Linked DNA regions of Homo sapiens: region 2 is linked to region 1. Evidence: promoter capture Hi-C in 16 types of primary human blood cells and fetal thymus (Javierre and others, 2016). All regions are on one chromosome and are shown on one strand. Each heading gives the region's core, a stretch centred on a gene start or on the middle of the fragment in contact. The rest is flanking DNA. Distances are from core to core; before and after follow the strand shown. Region 1 holds the start of ZIM3 (zinc finger imprinted 3). Region 2 holds the start of ZNF227 (zinc finger protein 227).

Region 1 (6,671 bases), core at 1-2,500:
ATATATAAAATCACTCCACCCCTTTCCGTTCACCTGCAGGCTTGCTCTGTCTCTCAGGCTGGAATGCAGTGGCAAGATCCTTGCTCACTGCAGCCTTGACCTCTTGGGCTCAATTGATCCTCCCACCTCAGCCTTCCAAGTATCTGGGACTATAGTAGTCCGACACGGCGGCTGGGATTCAGGCTGGCTGGGTCATTTTGCTTTTTTTTTCTTTTTTTTTTTTTTGAGATGGAGTCTCCCTCTGTCGCCCAGGCTGGAGTGCAGTGGCATGATCTCAGCTCACAGCAACCTCTGTGTTTTGGGTTCAAGCAATTCTGCCTCAGCCTCTTGAGTAGCTGAGTAGCTGGGACTACAGGTGTGTACCACCATGCCCAGCTAATTTTTGTATTTTTAGTAGAGACAGGATTTCACCATGTTGACCAGGCTGGTCTTGAACTCCTGACCTCAGGTGATCTGTCTGCCTCAGTCTCCCAAAGTGTTGGGATTACAGGCTTGAGCCACCGCACACCGCCAAGGGTCATTTGCTAATACGATCTTTGGATACCTCTTCTCCTGGGAGGAGGTCTAGTCTGGTGCATCCTGTCCCATGAAGTCTGGTTTAATCTCTTGGAATTCAGTTGGACGCTCAATTTTGGAAGGTCTCCATGTCTGCAGGCAAGGGCATGTAGCCTGTGTTTAAATTCAACACCCAGACTAGGGTGGGGATGGATTGGCATGTTGATCTCATTTTGAGAGTATTAGTACAGCTGAAGAGATTTTGCCAGTTGGAGGTTGGAGCCTGAATTCTTTCTGTCGGGCGGAGAGCACTTTAAGGCATTGTTCCACCTCCGCTGGCCCTATTTCTTTTTTCTTTTCCTTTCTTTTTTTTTTTTTGAGACGTGAGATGGAGTCTCGCTCATTGCCCAGGCTGGAGTGCAGTGGCACGATCTTGGCTCACTGAAGCCTCCGTCTCCCGGGTTCAAGCGATTCTCCTGCCTCAGCCTCCCAAGTAGCTGGGATTACAGGCACGTGCCACCATGACCAGCTAATTTTTGTATTTTTAGTAGAGACGGGGTTTCCCCATGTTGGCCAGGCTGGTCTTGAACTCCTGTCCTCCCAAAGTGCTGGGATTACAGGCATGAGCCACCGTGCCCAGCCAATTTTTGTTGTTTTAATTTATTTTCATCCTCTGACATTTGGATAATGTTTTCCATGCTTTCTATTTCAAAGTTAAGGTAAAAAATTTTTACTTGCATGAACTTAAAAAAAATTCCATTGGAAACTGATTGGGCAGATTTGAAAATTAAGCTTTCACAATCACAATTTTTATGAGAGTTCATTCAGTTTTGGAGAAGTCGAGGAAAGAATTGGGAATTGAAATTTTGATGTGGCCTGATAGGATCAGGTGGGGCTTTTGATAGGAAGTGAGTGTTTTGGGTTGTTTCTTGACTGGATTATGATGCGGAATACAGCGGGTAGAGGGCCGATTAAGTTTTAGTCATTAGTGTAGCTTTTCAGTATACACGCCTTTTCATTTTCAGTCCCTTTCAGAAGAAAAGACCACAGGCATCAGAAATCAATCAACTTGCTAATTTATGCCAGATTCCACTGGAGGTAAGCTGATTTTTTTTTCTCCCTGAAAACCAAATGTCTGGGTTTTGTTTGTTTGTTTGTTTTGCATTTTTACTTAGTTTCATTTTTCTACCTCTCCTATTTGCTGGAATAAGCTAAATATTTTACATTGGTAGTTTAGATTTTTTTTTTAGTTGTCATATTGAAAAGTGATGCTCCCAGGACACTCAAAATTATTTTCGTGGCCCTCCAGTCCTTAGCATTACTGCTGGCCCACAGCTACTTCTAAAAACTTTTTATTGACAAATAATAATTGTGTTTATTTATGGGGTACAATGTGATGTTTTGATACATGTTTACATTGGGGGGATGATTAAATCAAGCTAATTAATCTATTTTTGTGGTGAAAGCATTTACAATTTACTGTTTTTTAAAATTATATATATTTTTTGTGCTAGAATTGGACTCCTCAAACTTTAATAAACATTAAAGTTGTGCCCGGCAAGTTTATTCTTTTTAAAAACATATTTACTTATTTAAAACTTTATTCCTGGCTGGTGTGGTGGCTCATGCATGTAATCCCAGGATTTGGGGAGGCTGAGGGAGGAGGATTGCTTGAGCCTAGGAGTTTGAGACCAGTTTAGGTGACATAGCAAGATCCCTTCTTTACAAAAAATAAAAAGTTAGCTGATGTGGTAGCATGCACCCATAGTCTTAACTATTCAGGAGGCCAAGGTAGGAGGATTGCTTGAGCCAGGGATTTTTAAACTGCTGTGAGCCGGGATCACATCACTGCACTCCAGCCTGGGTGACAGAATGAGACCCTGCCTCAATAAAATAAAATAAAAAATAAAAACTTTATTACTTAAACATTGAGACAGAGGTTTCACTATGTTGCACAGGCTGGTCTCAAACTCCTGGGCTTGGCTGGATGTGGTGGTTCACGCCTATAATCCCAGCACTTTGGGAGGCTGAGGCCGGCGGATCACTTGAGATCAGCAGCTCGAGACCAGCCTGAACAACATGGTAAAACCTTGTCTCTACTAAAAATGCAAAAATTAGCTGGGCATGGTGGTGCATGCCTGTAATCCCAGCTACACGGGAGGCTGAGGCAGGGGAATCCCTTGAACCCGGGAGGCAGAGGTTGCAGTGAGCCGAGACTGTGCCACTGCACTCCAGCCTGGGCGACAGAGCAAGACTTGGTCTTAAAAAAAAAAAAAAAAAAGTAACTCCTGGGCTCAACTGATCCTCCCACCTTGGCTTTCCAAAGTGCTGGGATTATAGGTGTGAGCTGCCACGCGTGGCCAAAATCTACGCTTTTGGCAAAGAATTACCAATGATCCAGCTGTCCCGCTTATGGCAAAGCTGAAGGGCTATCTGCATCCCATGTTCACTGCGGCGTTATTCGTCACGACCACAGCTGCTTCAGGATTCATGGTTTCTGCTCTCGGCCTTCCTTACTGTGCTCTAGCTGATCTGATGCTTGCCTCATTGTCTTTGCACAGGCTTGTTTTAAAGGTGCTGTTGAACTGCTGTTTAGCTTTCTCTCTCTCTCTTTTTTTTTTTTTTTGGGACGGAGTCTCGCTCTGTCGCCCAGGCTGGAGTGCGGTGGCGCGATCTCGGCTCACTGCAAGCTCCGCCTCCCGGGTTCCCGCCATTCTCCTGCCTCAGCCTCCCGAGTAGCTGGGACTACAGGCGCCCGCCACCACGCCTGGCTAATTTTGTTTTTGTATTTTTAGTAGAGACAGGGTTTCACCGTGTTGGCCAGGATGGTCTTGATCTCCTGACCTCGTGATCCGCCTGCCTCGGCCTCCCAAAGTGCTGGCATTACAGGCATGAGTCACCGCGCCCAGCCAATTTTGTATTTTTAGTAGAGACGGGGTTTCACCATGTTGGACAGGCTGGTCTCGAACTCCTGACCTCTGGTGATCTGCCTGCTTCAGCCTCCCAAAGTGCTGGGATTACAGGCGTGAGCCACCGTGCCTGGCTTGCACTTTCTTCTTTGAGACCCAGTCTCAATAAATAAACAAACACAAAAAAACCAAAACAAAAAAAAAAAAGACCTTCAGAAGGGGATCACTGAGGTACAAGTCAGGGCTTTTCTGAGTGGGTTAGGGAGAGCTTTTATCCAGGGTGTGGAGCATTCTATGCTGGATGATCCCCAACTTCCAAAGCGAATTCTGCTATTTCATGGTTCTTTTCCATTTTCCCTCAGATCTGCCTTCCCAAGACTTTACTGACTGGTGAAGAACAGGAAATGAACAATTCCCAGGTGAGCTTTTCAAAAAAATCTAAATCTCATAATGAATAAACGTATGACCCACGTTCCTCTTGCTCAGAATTAACTGTGCTAACCTTTTGGCATATTTTCCTCCTTCCTTCCATACTTCTATTAAAAGGTAACACACACTCTACTTTCTGCTTTCCTATTAAAGCTGAAACATTTCAAGTAAAGCTCAAGGCTGGGCATGGTGGCTCACACCTGTAATTCAGCAATCTAGGAGGCCAAGGCAGGCGGATCGCTTGAGTTCAGGAGTTTGAAACCAGCCTGGGCAACATGGCGAGATCCCGTCTCTACAAAAAATTAGCTGGGTGTGGTGGTGGTGGCGTACACCTGTAGTCTCAGCTACTCTGGAGGCGGAGGTGGGAGAATCGCTTGAACCTGGGAGGTTGAGGCTGCAGTGAGCCATGATTGTGCCACTGCACTCCAGCCTGGGTGACAGAGCATGACCCTGTCTCAAAAAAAAAAAAAAAAAAAGCTTGGTTACGGAAACACCAGGAGTTTGGTCTAGGTCCTGCTACTGGCTGCACAGAAAGCCAATGACTGAGACAATGGGTATTGCCAAGGAAGAAGCTTTAATCAGCTGCCGTAGGTGAAGAAATGGGAGCTCAGCCTCAAATCCATCTCCCTAACTCACTAAAACTAGGGGTTTATACAGCATGGAAGAAATATAACAATGTGTAAGAAAGCAAGACTAGGGAGGGGGCAAGGAGACATCTGTTGTGGTGAGTTTCAGTTGTGGTGAGTTTCAGTTGATTTTTTTTTTTTGAGGGAGTCTCGCTGTGTCACCCAGGCTGGAGTATAGTGGTGCAATCTCAGCTCACTGCAACCTCTGCCTCCCAGGTTCAAGCGATTCTCCTTCCTCAGCCTCCTGAGTTGCTGGGATTACAGGTGTGCGCACCACCACTCCTGGCTAATTTTTGTATTTTTTGGTAGAGACGGGGCTTCACCATGTTGGCCAGGCTGGCCTCGAAATCTTGACCTCAGGTGATCTGCCTGCCTTTGAGAGATCTGAAGGTCTTTTCCTGAGGAAGGAACTCAGACAAAACAAATACAGGTTTCAAGCTTTAACAGCGGAAGGGTCAATTTCTATGTTTATCCAAAAAACAAAAACAAAAACAAAAACAAAAAACAAAAAACCCACAACTGTCTATGGGATTACTGGGCTGGTTTCAGCTCAAGCATCTTTGTTTTGTTGTTTTTTTTTTTTTTTTTTTTTTTGAGACAGTCTCCCTCTGCCACCCAGGCTGGAGTGCAATGGCTTGATCTTGGCTCACTGCAACCTCCACCTCCCAGGTTCAAGCGATTCTCCTGCCTCAACCTCCTGAGCAGCTGGGATTACAGGCGCACGCCACCACGCCCACGCCCGGCTAATTTTTGTATTTTTAGTAGAGATGGGGTTTTACCATATTGGTCGGGCTGGTCTCGAACTCCTGACCTCAGGTGATCCACCCGCCTCAGCCTCCCAAAGTTCTGGGATTACAAGGGTGAGCCACCACGCCCAGCCTCAAGCATCTTTTGACCATTGCTCTTACAAACCTGGTCCACTGCTAAGCCCTGAGATGTAACAGTGTCATGTGTGTTTCACCCCAACCTATTTTTTAAATGATTGGTGTCTTGAATGTGTGTCCTCTCCCAACTTTGTTCGGTGTGTATTTGAAACAAATTCTGTAAATCCACACAATAAACTGAAAAATCATTAACTAGTACCAGTCGGAATCAAAGTAAATTATGGATAGCTGAAAGACCAAGGATAAGTTGTATGCAGTTAGGCAGATAGTAGTTTCTTTGCAATTGTTAAAATTAAGCCTGTTGACCAATTTCCTGTTGACAGGAAAGGCATACTAAGGCTGGGTGTGGTGGCTCACACCTGTAATCCCAGCACTTTGGGAGGCGAAGGCAGGAAGACCACTTGAGGCCAGGAGTTCAAGACCAGCCTGGACAATATAGTGAGACCCTGTCTACAAATAATAAAAAATGAGCTTAGCATGGTGGTGCATGCCTGTAGTCCCAGCTATTCTGGAGGCTGAGGTAGGAGGATTGCTTGATCCTGGGAGGTTGAGGCTGCAGTGAGCCATGATCATGCCACTGTACTCCAGCCTGGGTGGCAGAGCAAGAACCTGTGTCAAAAATTTAAAAAAAAAGGCCGGGTGCGGTGGCTCATCCCTTTAATCCCAGCTCTTCGGGAGGCCGATGCGGGCAGATCACTTGAGGTCAGGAGTTTGAGACCAACCTGGCCAACATGGTGAAACCCGTCTCTACTAAAAGTACAAAAATTAGCCAGGTGTCGTGGTGCGCGCCTGTAATCCCAGCTGCTCAGGAGGCTGAGGCAGGAGAATCGCTTGAACCCAGGAGGTGGAGGTTGCAGTGAGCCGAGATTGTGCCACTGCACTCCAGCCTGGGCTACCAGAGTGAGCCTCTGTCCCCTTCCCCGCCAAAAAAAATTAATAAATAAACAAAATTTTAAAAAAGCGAGCTAGAGCACAAACACAACTAAAAAATTTATCTGTCCAAGAGGACACTAGGTGCTGGCTCTTAGAGGTGAGATTTTCAGTTTCTGACAAAGGAATTCGCTTTACAAGTGTGACTTCCAACACTGTGAGTGTTGAGTGGCAGGGGCAAAATGCTGCCGTAAGTCCAGTATGGCTGCAGGAGAGACCCAGGGGAGTGCTGTGTGACCCTGTGTGAGTGGGAGTGTGGTAGACATGCCAGACGCTGGCCCCTGTAACAGGTGTCACCTGTTTCTCCCAAATGCAAGGAAAGCTGATAAATTAGGGGAGCGCACCATCCAGTCTGAATGTCGACTGTGGAAAATAGATTACAGTCAGTTTAGATGTAG
Region 2 (6,671 bases), core at 2,649-5,148, about 13 Mb after region 1:
CATAAAGCCCTGACTTTTCTTCTCTCTTCACTGGAGCTTCCAGTAAAAAGGGCGCTTGTGAGGGAATCACTGTATCAATAGCAGGAGCCAACCCAGTATCAGGTGCCACCACTGTTCTAAGGTTTGACCCGTATTATCTTGTTTAATTCTAATTACAACCCTACACAGTAACGACTATCTTTATTGCTATTTTAAAGATGAGGAAACAGGAGCGCGGATCATAGGTAACTCGCTGTTTATTATACCCACAGAACTAGCGGCGCTGCTTGCCAAGTGCGGGAGGAGAGCAAACTTCCCGCCCTCGGCCTCTCGGCCTCCGCCGCGGCCGCGACCTCTCCATCCCAAGACTGATGGCTGGGGAGCGCCTATTCCCAAGCACAGGCTGAAAAGGTTCAAGAGGGGTCGTGGGGGTGCAGGGCTGACTCACCTCCCGGACCCAAAAGATGGTGGCGGCCTCGCTTTCCGGGGCGGAAGTGGCTCTGCCTGCCCAGAGCTCCTGAACTACCCTTCCCAGAAGGCCCGCGCTCCTGCGGCCCAATTGTTTCCGGACAGAGTTCTGGAATACGTTTCCCAGAACTTCCAGAAGGAAAAACCATCCAGGTGCCGCCCTCTTCGCGCTTGAAAAAAAAAAAAACAAAAAAAAAAACGGAGCGAGCGAGTGAGAGAGGGTTACGGAGAGTGTGACAAAATTCTCGGAGCTCCCGGACTACAACATCCAGAATCCTCTTCACGGCTTATTGCTGTTTAGCCAGGCTGAAGCAGTTCTCTGATGTCAGTGGAATTTAGGTTTTTCTTATTAACAAAAAGTAACAGCAAATATGTGAAGAATTGGAGCCCTAAAATAAAAAAAGACTCCCAGCACTTTGGGAGGCCGAGGCGGGCGGATCACGAGGTCAGGAGTTCCAGACCAGCTTGGCCAATATGATGAAGCCCCGTCTCTACTAAAAATATAAAAATTAGCCGGGCGTGGTGGCGCGCGCCTGTAGTCCCAGCTACTTGGGAGGCTGAGGCATAAGAATCGCTTGAACCCTGGAGGGTGCAGTGAGCCAAGATCGTGCCACTGCACTCCAGCCTGGGCGACAGAGTGAGACTCTGTCTCAAAAAAAAAAAAAAGAAAAAAAAAACTATTATAAGAAACAGATCACGTGATCCTGTACTAATAGAATTATACCCACCACTTCCAAAAAAAAAAAAAAAAAGGGCAGAGGAAACCCTTTAAGTTTTTACATTTAACAGGATCGACTAATAGAAAAACTACTCTTTAGATACTAAAAGAATGAAAGAGCAATCAAAAAATGCAACGAAGGCAGAATATATTATGGATTTCCACTTTTCTTAATAGCACAGTCATATAATTCAGAACAACTTGCTTACTGAGGATAGCTAGACATAGAAAACACAAGCTTTGGCATATGGTAGATCAACTCCACAAAGCAACTAGGGCCTCTGTAATCATTCCTCAAGGAGTTTCTGAATTTGAAAGATGAACAAATTTATTACTTCAGTGTTTAAACCTTGATCTTTATTTGCTTAAATGTATAATGGAATTGATGTTTCCAAGAATTGAGGGTTGAAAGAAGAGAGCAATACCTAAAAATATCCACATATCTACTACAGTACATGTTTGCAGTTCTCATTTACTAAATATATATTCTTTATTCTGTTATATACAACTATCTCTTATAAAGAACCAAGTATGTGCCAGGAACTAGTTCAAACTATTCAGACTATGGGACCCTCACTACATTTTCACAACTTTTTTCTTTTTTTTTTTGTTCTGTTTTGTTGTTGTTGTTGTTGTTGTTGTTGTTAGACAGAGTTTGGCTCTTTTGCCCAGGCTGGAGTGAAGTGGCATGACCTCGGCTCATTGCAACCTCCGCCCTCACACAAGGTTCAAGCAAGTCTCCTGCCTCAGCCTCCCAAGTCGCTGGGGTTATAGGCACCCCCCTCCCCACCACGCCCAGCTAATTTTTGTATTTTTAGTAGAGACGGGGTTTTGCCATCTTGGCCAGGCTAGTCTTGAATTCCTGACCTCAGGTGATCCACCCGCCCCGGCCTCCCAAAGTGCTAGGATTACAGGCATGAGCCACCACACTTAGCCCATTTTCACAACTTTTTTAAAACAAATAATGTCCTCTAGTTTACTCTTTGGGATCCAGAGGCAGAGAGAGGTTAAGTATATCTCCTAAGATGGAAATTTGATTATTTTCACCTGCATGTCTATCCAGTGCCCTTAAGAGAAGGTTCAAATGCTTTAACAAGTCGCACAAACAGGAATTTTCCAGATGCTGTTTCTCTCTTGGAATCCACTTTCCACTCTACATGTCCAGCCATAGTGGATTACTTGTACTCCTACAAAAAGCCTCTAATTCTTTGTATTTGGTGTTCCTTCTGTCATAACCTGCTACTCTTTTCCCTCCTGGGTGACGGTCTTCATCCATAGCTTAAATATTCCCTGCTCTAATAAGACTTACTGTGGGTTCTTGCCTTGTAGACTAATAAAAGTAGTGTGTAGTAGCTAATATTACAGCCTTAGTATAAAGCTATCTAGATTAAAATACTAGTGCTTCCATTTCTTCTGTCCCCTTTTTCTTCATTTGTAAAATGGAGACTATAATAGGGTTGATATCAAGTACAAATGAATAAATACATGTAAAACACTGGAAATTCTGCCTGATTCATGACTACCCTATAAAAAGTTAGCAAATGTTAACCTCAGGGGATAAACACAGGACACATAAATTATGGATGGAAGGTTTCTACAAAAATTTGCTTTGATCACTAAAATATTATCAATAACCATGCATCAACTTTTGATTACTGGGAAAAAAACTAGAAGACTATGCAAATGCATCCCACCAAAAGTGAGATAAAGAGTCACTAATATTGACATTATTTCCTTTTATTTTTTCCTAAATCCATTTTGGGAATTCTGAATACAATCTAAATGATCTGCAGGTTTCCATTTCAAGATACTGGGCAGCTCCACAAACCACAAACACTAAACCCCTCCTTACCAGTCTTGTGCTGGGTGCTAAGCACATGGTAAAGAATGGGACATAGTTCCTGCAACAAAGTAACATGCAGCCTAAGGGAGAAACAGATCAGATCTAAAAGACCCTGAGTAGGCCGGACTCTGTGGCTCACGCCTGTAATCCCAGCACTTTGGGAGGCCGAGGTGGGCAGATCACGAGGTCAGGAAATCGAAACCATCCTGGCTAACACGGTGAAACCCCGTCTCTACTAAAAATACAAAAAATTAGCCGGGTGTGGTGATGGGCGCCTGTAGTCCCAGCTACTCAGGAGGCTGAGGCAGGAGAATGGCGTGAACCCGGGAGGTGGAGCTTGCAGTGAGCCGAGATCGCGCCACTGCACTCCAGCCTGGGCGACAGAGCGAGACTCCGTCTCAAAAATAAATAAATAAAAATGAATAAATAAATAAATAAATAAAAGACCCTGAGTAAAACATTCCAAATAAAGAAGCCAAATTCATAACTATTCCTTTCCAAATCTCAATGATTCCCTCTCCTTTAGGTTTTTCACATAACTACCTTCCTCCTAGTTGCCAGGAAAGAAAACCCTGAAGTTATTTGCTTTCCTTTGCTCTTCATTCATAATTACTTTATGTTAATTACTTTTAATTTCTACCGACTGACTAGGATTTGGTTTTGATTTTAAATAGTCAAATTCCTCCTCTTCCCACCAAAAACATATGTGGGAGAAGAGTAATAGATGCAATAAGATAGACAAAATGTTTACAAGAGTTAAAGACAAATGATGGCGGGGTGGGGGTCATTAACACTATTTTCTGTATGTGCATGTTTGGGAATTTCTACAAGAAAAATTAGAGAAATACCATGTGGGTGGTATGGCACCAATGCATAAATGCATTTAAAATGTTAGCAGTGGTTATCTCTAAATCCTGAGATTATGGGTTAAAGGAACGGGGTCTCGCTGTCATCCAAGCTGGAGTGCAGTGCCGTGGTCATAGCTCACTGCAGCTTCAAACTCCTGAGCTCAAGCGATCCTCCCACCTCAGCCTCCCAAGTAGCTGGGACTATCGGTATGTGCCACCACACCCAGCTAATTGTTTAAATATACAGCAGTGAATATGGGTAACTTTCATTTCCTTTTATACATTTCTGTATTTTCTAATCTCTCTATAATGGTCATGCATTATTTCTATAAGGAGAATATAGACTCTAAAGCCCCAGATCACCTTCCAAACCTGATAGAAAAAGACTTCCACAAACCATATACACGATTATTTCATATGGTTCTAAGAAAAATGTACAGCGTGGAGAATATGAACACAGACTTGAGGCTCCAACTTCTTGGGTTCATATGGACGTTCTGCCTCTTACTAACTGTACGTTTTAGGGTTCGTCTTCCCTCTTCTTTTTCTTAGAGCATTTCCATAAGAAACCTAGTGCTTCTGAATCCTTTCTCTAACCTTTTGATACGCATGTAAATTTCATTAGCGGCTATGTAAGCCTCTAGCCAGGTTTACAACCTAGAAGTATTTGTGAAAGTTCTGAGATTTGTCCCTTTTGAATATAAACATCTGAGAAAATAACAACCCACTGTCCCTATCACTGCAAGAGTTTAACCAAGGTGCCTCTCTTTAAACTGTAAATCGGCTAGCAGATGAGGTAAGAGAAGTTTTATTACTTTCGATAAAGTTAGTTAACTAACACTGGATTCTCAAGTAAATTTAGAATAAATTTATAAAAGAATTTGCAGTAAATGATGAGACCAAGTCCTCTTATTGAAAAATCATTAATCTTGAGAACTGATGTACATAGTGGTCAAAAGTAGAATTGTATAAAAAGTTTAAAACTGCTTGACTGTACACATAGGGCGGAATTTTTTAATAATATTTTTCTTTAGATTGCCTACAATACTATACAGTGGTTGTCCTTATTCAGTAATAAGACAGCTTTCTTTTCTACATTGTGTGGAGAGGTCTATTATCTTCGTCTCTCTGTTAGAACATAAGTGGTACCTACCACATAACGGTATTTTGGACATTTAATGAATAATTCGTATAAAAGTACAAGGACCTCCTACTAATGACTCTACTTCAGGAATGAGGAGAATGGGATAGAGAAAGATTAAGATTAACTCACAAAACGTTATAACACTAGTAAGTGGCAGAGCTGGCAAGTAGGTGGGAGAGGCTGGCTGCGGAACGCCAGGAGACCCTCTAACCAAGCGACAACCGATCCAGGACGCTCCCAACCCGGGGACGCAAGAACTGCTCCAAACGTGAGGCTCAGCCGAGAGGAAAGAACACAAACTGCTCCCAACTCCAGCCTCCCAGCTGGCCACAGCTTCTCTAGCCTTCCTCCAGACGAGGGCCAGGGCCCCGCTTGCTCCCTGACGAGGCTGAGAAAACTTGGAGGGTCCCAGCGGATCCAAACACTTGTTTTCGCCCTCCTAGAGCGAAAAAACTTCCCAGCAACTAAAGAGAAACCCCGGATCACTTCCCACAATTCCCTAGCTCCGCCATCCAAAAGCGGAAGTGCCCCAGGCTACGCGGGCCCCTGACTACACTTCCCAGAATGCCCCAGGGGAAACCGGCCATAGTTCCGCTCCTTGGAGCGGAAATACTTCCGAGTAACCTGAGCTTCCGGGTATCCTAGAAAGCCAGAGCAAATCTTAGCCAAGATTTGCAATTTTAGAGTGGAAGTGTCTGTCTTGGTGGTACCTACCGATTCTGTTGTTCAAGGGCCTTGGGGAAGAAGTTGGGGATCGGGAGAAGGGTACCTAGTAAAACCCAAAGAGCTGCACTACAGGAGTAAAGATAAAGGGCAAATAGATCATCTTCACTAGGGGACTGAAGCAAAACTTGAAATCACATTCGTACCTGAAAATAGATTAAAGTAAACCTTTTCTGTTAGTGTTTGCAGGTACCTGACATAAACAAAAATATTCTAATGGAGAAAGAGACTATCGTCCTAGGCCTCATATTCTTTCTCTAATTTTAAAATATATTAATATTGGACAAAGTACAATAGTCCTTGAAGAAAAGAACATTTTAAGATATACAAAGAAACACTTCATAGTAATGAAAATTTTCTATCAACTATAACAGCCTTACATAATGTAAAGCAAACTTTATAAAGAAAAATTGATTGACAGACTCATAAGGAGAAAAACACTGATAAACAGGAGAGCTTTTAATACATGATTAGAAGGAAACATAGAAAGCCTTGAAATCATATACAGGTCCTGGAGTTAACAATGGTTCACTTAAGATTTTTCGACTTCATGATGGTGTGAAAGCAACACACATTCAGTACAGTACCTATACAACCCTTCTGTTTTTCCCTTTCAATACCTATTCAATAAATTATATGATATTCAACACTTTATTATGAAATAAGCTTCTTTTTGCTAGATAACGTTGCCCTTGGATCACCTGAGGTCAGGAGTTTGAGACCACCCTGGAGAATATGGCAAAACCCTGTCTCTACTAAAACTATGAAAATTAGTCGGGCGTGGTGGTGCGCACCTGTAGTCCCAGCTACTCTGGAGGCTGAGGCAAGAGAATCACCTGAACCTGCGAGGCGGCGGTTGCAGTGAGCCAAGATCGAGCCATTGCACTCCAGCCTGGGCGAGAGAGCGAGACTCCCTCTCAAAACAAAACAAAACAAAAAACCTTGCCC

The links. The method cuts DNA at HindIII sites, captures the fragments that hold promoters and counts their contacts. A CHiCAGO score of 5 or more calls a contact.
Region 2: a fragment that was not itself captured here is called in contact with the fragment with the promoter of ZIM3 in region 1 in 1 of 17 cell types (total CD8 T cells); the score reaches 5.7 in total CD8 T cells.

Annotation. Positions count from the first base shown.
Region 1 is chr19:57,139,781-57,146,451 of GRCh38, reverse strand. ZIM3 (zinc finger imprinted 3) reads left to right here and starts at 1,250. Exons shown (of 5, transcript NM_052882.1): 1 at 1,250-1,593; 2 at 3,767-3,823. The coding sequence starts at 3,809. The HindIII fragment of the contact is 22,671 bases long and covers 1-1,289 here.
Region 2 is chr19:44,206,342-44,213,012 of GRCh38, reverse strand. ZNF227 (zinc finger protein 227) reads right to left here and starts at 481. Exons shown (of 6, transcript NM_182490.3): 1 at 428-481. RefSeq lists enhancers at 5,185-5,234, 5,245-5,344. The HindIII fragment of the contact is 4,986 bases long and covers 1,406-6,391 here.